Linked DNA regions of Homo sapiens: region 2 is linked to region 1. Evidence: promoter capture Hi-C in human tissues and cell types (Jung and others, 2019). All regions are on one chromosome and are shown on one strand. The core of a region is centred on a gene start or on the middle of the fragment in contact, and the rest is flanking DNA. Distances in the headings are between cores, read along the strand shown. Region 1 holds the start of SYT4 (synaptotagmin 4). Region 2 overlaps RIT2 (Ras like without CAAX 2).

The links. Contacts are between HindIII fragments. The study calls those that stand out against the background at their distance.
Region 2: a contact is called between a fragment that was not itself captured here and the fragment with the promoter of SYT4 in region 1, in 3 of the 25 tissues and cell types used here (H1 embryonic stem cells, dorsolateral prefrontal cortex and mesendoderm cells).

What each region holds. Positions count from the first base shown.
Region 1 is chr18:43,275,512-43,279,229 of GRCh38, forward strand. SYT4 (synaptotagmin 4) reads right to left here and starts at 1,979. Exons shown (of 4, transcript NM_020783.4): 1 at 1,737-1,979. The coding sequence starts at 1,770. The HindIII fragment of the contact is 4,332 bases long and covers 35-3,718 here.
Region 2 is chr18:43,031,555-43,035,272 of GRCh38, forward strand. RIT2 (Ras like without CAAX 2) reads right to left here. Exons shown (of 5, transcript NM_002930.4): 2 at 2,257-2,313. Among named protein-coding and RNA genes, the nearest start is that of RIT2, 82 kb to the right of the region's middle. The HindIII fragment of the contact is 4,988 bases long and covers 1-3,718 here.

The DNA of each region.
Region 1 (3,718 bases), core at 729-3,228:
TAAATAATAAAGTTATAAGTTCCAGCCCAGAAAGGGTTAAAACTTTTCTAAATAACCACAAGAAATCCAGTCTTTTGTTACTTCCCTTCCCCATCCCCCCAAATCTTCTGCCAATCTACTTCACAATTATAAAACTGAACTCAGAGAATGTAAGGTTAAGAAAAGACAAATGAAATAGAAGATAAAAAGGCCAATAAAATCGCAATAAAAATCCTGTATTTTAATGTACAGAAACTGAATCATGTAAAGATGAAATAAACCTTTGACTTCTCCAGGTGGAAAAAAGAAACAGTGACTACTACAGTATAAAGCAAGAGCTAAAGATAATCAGCTAAACTTGGTATCAGCTTTTCAGTTTTTCCTTCTATTCAAGTCTTTGTGAAAAAAAAATGCACCCACATTCCTGGACCATAATAACCCAAGGCCAGGGAGCAAAAGCAAAGTCATGAACTGAGAGAGTTCTTTAGCCAATGTAAAAACAATAAAAACAGTAGAAAATCATTTTTTAAAAGTAGACTGATAGTCCATGCTAGAACATATTTTCACTGGCACAGTCTCTAAAAATTCCTCCATATTAGAAAATCATTCAGGTTTCAAATGAAGAATTGGGAATAAATGTCATACCAAAATAAACCCAATAACCCAAATGGAAGGCTGGGAAAGAAATTCATTTATGAACATAATATCACAAATTGTCCCTATTGAATAGTTATGTCAAATGGCAAACATTTTCTATAACGTGGAAACACTTATCTACTCCCTATGTATTCTCTACTGATAAGGTCTTACAATCTTGAAAGTCAAGATCATAGTTATTTTACTCAGCTTAATAACAATTATCACACATCTGTAGATATCACTCCTCTTCACAACCTTCTATGAAATTTCATGATTTAAAAAATACGTGTAAGTAAAATTCTGACCTTTTTCCTTTGGAATATACTGAGATCTAAAAATAGTACTTTTTTACTCTATGAAGTACGTCTAATTTTATGTACTGAAACCAAAAACTTGGTGTGAGAAAAGGAAAACTGAACGGGAAAATTGGAGCCCTAATTCAAGTTTCCAGCAGCTTTTAGCTAATTGTGCAACCTATAATACTTCCCTCATCTCTCTGGGCTTTGGTTAGCTCAGCAGTGAAATGAAATGGGCTGAGCCAGTTCATTTTGAAACTCTCTTTAACCCTGCTACCATATGATTCTGTCTTTCACTAGCAACATATTTCAAGGATACAAGAAAAACATAGCAGAGAAAAACACCCATATGGTACGCCCTGTAATAAAATATACATTGCCAAACCCCAATAGACAAGTTGCTTTTTTTAACCAAGATCAAACCCCAATGTAACCAGAGATATATTTATCTTCTCCTAATAAAATATAGATTTACCTACAAATAAGAATCACCTACAAAATAGATGAAACCAACATGGGAAAAACAGACCCCTTTTTCTTTACTCAGTACATGCTGCAATTTACAGAAGTACCTGAAAATTTAAGAACTTCCTGAAGGTAAATTCTCCCTAACAGAAGACAGTTTCAGGGAGAGAGATACCAAGGAAGGGAGAGAAGCTGCAGAAATAAGCCACAATTGCCTGACTGCCATTCTCATTTTCCTTTTAAATTAACTACCTAGGAAATCTGTATTCAACAACCGGGCAAAAAATAAATGAATAAACAGTCCACCCCAGAGTATTCAAGGAATAACCGCAGTCATAAGTTCAGTAACTTGCTTACCAAATTCTTCCCGGCTGGTGGTGATCGGAGCCATTTTTTACTGCGTGTTCTGTCCGAGGTGCTGAAGGGAAAACTGCCTGGCTGGATTCACTTGCCTGGATCTCAAGCGCCGGCTTTCGGAGCGCTGAAAACAACAGCGCAGAGCCCAGGGCACCAGCTCCTGGAACAGGGAGGAGGCAAAGAGGGAGGTCCACTCGCCCTCGCACAGTGATTTGCCACCTCGGTTCCTGTTTTGGCTCTTCTGAGAAGCTCGTCTCCGAGACTCCAGACGTGGCTGGAACCCGAATTGACGCAATCCTGACGCTACAGGGCTGAAATCAGCACCTGCCCCCCTCCCCTCCTCCCTTCAAGCTTTCCTTCTTGCTTCCTCCCTCCTCTCTTGAGGATTCAACACATGCTCATCAATTATTTTAACTGTTGGACCACTAGAGATTAGCTTTGCTGTTTTGTGGGGGCTCAGAGGCTCACCGAGATAAGCCCCGAAACTGATCCCTGTCAGTTCCTAATATAAAATCTCCTGATCACCTAGATGAATAAAAATATGTTTCTGAGTTTTCAGAATAACGTAACTTACAGAGGAGAAGTTTCTGCTTCAAATTACTCTTTTTAACATGCAAAAACATGTTTTCTTGCTTTTTAATTTTTTTCTTTGACATGTTATACCTATGATACTTATTACATTTAGAAAAGATTCACTACAAATTGATGCATTTGATATAAGATAGTTTTCCCAGTATAATCCTTTATGTTCTAATAAATTATTAGTCTAAATATTTTGCTGGAACAGTTGATCTTTCCTGGTCTCTCAGCTCTCTTCCCTTTAATATCTGACATTTGACCAGTTAAAGCACTTAGGAACAGATGGGGATAATTCCTTGGATATTCAGAGTCACTCTCAGTTATGACTTTTGCAAATAATAAGGCGCTTCTGAAATGACATTTATGGTTAAAAGGCCTGACTTCTAGTACGTTTGTACAAAATAGTTTCCAAAATCAGGCCAACATCTAAAGTAACATTGGTAACATTGGTTATTTCAAAGGAAAGCATTCCTTTTTCTAAACTGATGATATTCTCGGAGGTGAAAAACTGTGAAAAATATGGTGTCGGATTCTGATTCATTGGAATCTGAAGAGTGTGCCTTTCTAAAACAAATGCTTAGCAATTTTTCAAAGGAAAGAAGTCAAGCTGTAACTCCAACTGTCAATTATTGCTCTGCAAAGAATTTCTTTGCTCTGGAGTTAATAAGGAAATGGCATTCAGTGTGTGCTGGGATGTGGGAGAAGGGATACAGGGTGAGTCTCAGAAAGCTACTGTGCAAGTGACAGGTCCCTGCACATTGGCTAGCAGCAGCCCAGAGCATCAGGGCTCTGTCTGGGGAGAAATTGGCTTCAGTTCTTTGCATCATGGAAAATTTTATAAACCAGTCTTTTTTCTTTGCTATTCTATTTGCTCCCACATACTTGGCATTGGAGTGTTCCTCTAACAGATTTTTTTAAACTTTATATCTTCATGCTTTGAAAACACACAAACTAATTTGCTGTATTTAATTTTTCTGCTGGCAGAGTCTGTGGTTGTGTCTTTATCATTTCACTTTATTCAGATTACCTATTTCCTTAATTATGCATGCATGCACCCTGTAGGGTTGTCCCTAGAAACAAATATCCATTAGGTTAAAGAATAAGTGGCATTTATTTGTGATGCATATCATAGGTGGACCAAATACATGGTGTGATGTTTACTAAAGTATATATTTTCTAGCTAAGTTATTGCTAACATATGTTTAAGCTCATTTGTTGTAAACATAAATACCTTATGTGTTTGTTCTATAAATTAGTATCTCATTAATTTTACCTTCAGATGGTATAATGTTGTTATCTGTAAACTGTACAGATTGTTTAAACTCTATTTCTACGGAACCCACCCCATCCTTTGCTGTCTGACATCTGAGGAAACATCGTGATAAGATTACCTCTTGCCCAGA
Region 2 (3,718 bases), core at 425-2,924, 240 kb before region 1:
TGTTGCCAATAAATAAGGGGAACAATTACTCCTTGGGATGAACACTGGTATCAAATAATATATCTAACTCTTTTCAGTGATAAAGGGATCTTACGTTTTCAGAACTGAGGTATATTTGAAAGAAGAATAACTCTAAGCTGAATATAAGGGAGAAAATAAAGCCATATATATCTCTCAATTATTTTAGACAAAAGGCTATTTAAAAGCCTCAGTCAGTAGGGTAACAAACAGATCTAGAGAAGGATTGAAAAATATTTATTTCCTATCTCAATTGTGAAAAAAGTATCCTTGATAGGTGTTATTCTTTTATAATTTGAATGATTTTCAAACTGTACTAATACGAATTTCCTCTTAAGAGGTCATTAAGTCAGCCACATTGAGTTACAGTTATGTAGCAGAAGCAGGTGGAAGGTAAATTATTTCAGACTTTTACCTTCTGCAAGCAGGATACCAATGGAAAATTGCTAACCAATATTCCCATTAGAAAGGCCACAAAATGAAATGATAGGAAAATCGGATCAAAAGTAATAAAGTACTCTATGTTTCCATTTTCAAACTTCTTCTTCTAAAGCTGTTTTATTTATAGCCAGATAAAGGTATGATTGTAGCTATCTGTTAGTACTGAATGTCCAGGTATCTTAATCTCAAGTGATAGATGTGTCTCATGGATAACTAAAGGAGACATCATCATATACTTCTCATTTCTCCTGTTTGAAGGAGTCATTTATGATTTATTCACATCTACTGCCCTGTTCAAGCTGTTAGACGTGAGAGGTTGATGAACAAGAGGCTGGTTTTTGAGACACCAATACATACAAAGCTTAAAGAATAACAGAAAATAATAAACAACTGAGTGAATTTCTGATATCATAAATTATATATTATATTATTGAATTTTCCAACAAGATAAAAGATTCAGAGATTTTTCCAAAGATTGTCCCTTTTGTGTAACTTACAGTGTGTGGTACAAAGCTATTGGCATTCTGGAATTAAGATATTTAGAAAATGGACTTAGAGAATTACCAAGCAACAGTTGCAGCTAACCACTTCTAAAACTTTACAAAGTAGTTTCTTTCTCTTTAGAAACAAACCTCAACTTGTTGAGGAAGTCCTTTCCAGTTATCACATACTAATTGCATGTACTAAATCTATCTAATCGATTTACTTCAACTGATGAGGTGGTCTTAATAAATAATCAGACATTTAAAAATAAGTATGTTTTATATATGTCAGCAATGGTATGCAAGCAAATATTCTGGGGCCTTTTGGGAAAGAATACAGGAGTATAATCTACAGCATACCACTTAATATATCAAGTAGGATCTTGAATTAAAATTTCTTGATAAGCATAATAGAAACTAGATGATCTTACCCATGGGTGGGGTGAGGATAAGATATATTCAGACTGAGGGAACAAATAGGGTAAGTAATGGGGAGTGGTTAAAGGAGCTCACCATCCAGGCAACCAGTCAGCCATGAGGCTATATGCCTCCCTCTCTGGGAAATAATGCTTGATGTGTTTTTAATACCAGTGTGTTTCTGACAAAGAGTACTACGGTGGACTCTGCTTGAAAATTTCCAGCCAATTCTTTAAAGTAGTTTTTTGAATGAGTAAAGCAATTTTAAAGGCATCTTTTGTGCTTTGAATGAGGGAGAAAACTTGTTCCCCAATGCAAAACTTCTGCAGTATATTATGACAGAAAGAAAACTGGGTAGGAGGAATAAAACATGGGTGGTGTTTTGGCTCTAGCAATATTTTAATACCTTAAATGTCAGTTTCCTAACCTTCAAGATGAGAATGATGGATAATATTATGTCTATATCTAACGTTCCAAATGCACCATTAACATGGCTAAATAACTCTGCAGTAGAAAATTCAGAGACTGACAGAAGTGAGCAAATACATATATAATCACATCAATTTTATTATCCAGAGTACAATTTTATTATCCAGAGAAACTTCTCAAATGCAGATAGATATCCATTATTAGATACTGAAATCACTTAATGGATTCCAACCACCATTTACCAGAAAGAAATAGAATAGATAATACCAGACTACCCGGCAAGAAGTAAGGACAAATACTGTCTCTTGAAGCTTCTGTTGTGGTACGTTACATATGATAGATTTGTGTGTATGTGTTCTGGGTCATAGAGTAAATTATATTTATTTTCCATCAACATTGCTATTATTTTCAAGCCACTTAGTCACAGTGTCTTTATTTGAGCTTACGGAGAAAGGAAGCTTCCACTTACCTATAGTAGGGTCATGATAATCAGGGAACTGATGACTAATAAACTGCATTGTCATTGCTGAAAGAAAAAAAACACATTTTGTTTAATAAAAATTCACTAATTCATCAATAAGTTATTTACCAACATAGTCCACCAATCTTTTAAAAGGTTATGGTGAATAAGTTAGTTATGTGAGTGACTAATTTAATTTCACACAAAATGAAAACAATAAGACGAAGTTCTAGAGGGAAAAATGTGTCAGATAATGCCAGATACTTCTCTGAAATAAATATGTTCAAATTTTAAGTGTATTTCAATAAAAATGGTATTAGAGTAAAAATAAAGAAGCTCTTGACATAATGAAAATGTAAACCAGTTACAGAATCCCTCTTGACCTTCTCTGGTTGAACAGTTGGTAATGATGTGCAAGTCCCTTTCACCAAAGAATCTGTACATTCTCTGGGACTCTAAGTTTTTCATCTTTAAAGTGAATAGATACCCTCTGAAGTTCTTACGAACTATAAAGATATGTAATTACATTATTTTTGTCTTTAACTGTTCAAAATTAAAATTATTTCAGTTACTTTTATTTTGCCTAATTTATGTTATCGACCACCTTTTCTTCATTACTTTTTTTCTGTAATTCTGTACCCTCCACATTATTTCCAAACCTATGATTTTGTAAAACATTTGTAATATTTCTATTGTAAAGTATTTCCTCATGTGAATTTCCATTATTAGGAAGCAAAAGGAACTCTGAAGCAAAACAACAAACTTATATAAAAATAGTGTATAATAGCTCTTCTCTTTCTTTTTTCCTCACTTCTGCATGTGTGTTTGTTAACAGACTCTCTCCTTGAGCAAATTTTAGGTAAGATCCTAAGCCTTCTTCTCTACTAGGCCTCAAACATGGACCCTGTCCTTGCATTCTGGCTGGGTCTATATATCCCACTTGTCAAATCCTGCTAAGTCAGTTTAGAGAGACTCCTCCCCTGATATCTGATCCTCTGTCCTACCTTCAACAAGAATCCTGCTAAGTCAGTTTAGCAAGAATCTTCCTCCCCTTGATGTCTCCTCTTAGGAATTTTCCATGCACAGGTGTAACCCCTCCCCTCTCACCTTCCTCCTCCTCTGTGCCTTGCCTATACATCTCTGCATGTCCTTTCTGTGTTTGGAATTGAGCCCAGTTCTATACTGAGGACTCTTTTCCCTTATGGAAATAGTTCCTGGATTAAATTTATTTTTATTGCTTTAACTAGTGTCCAGCTCTGGTTGTTTTTAAGTGTGTACACACTTTAGCAAATATTCAGAGCAGAGAAGACTTAGTTACATTCAACAAACATGTGGAATGCGCTAGTCTGACCCTGCTGAGAAAAGCAAAGAAATGGAAACTGACCCAGTGGAAGAGAATTTCTGTTTTATGCTTTAACAATTGTTTACTTCCTTTATTTGCAGTGACAAAAGAAGTCTCTACATATAAGTA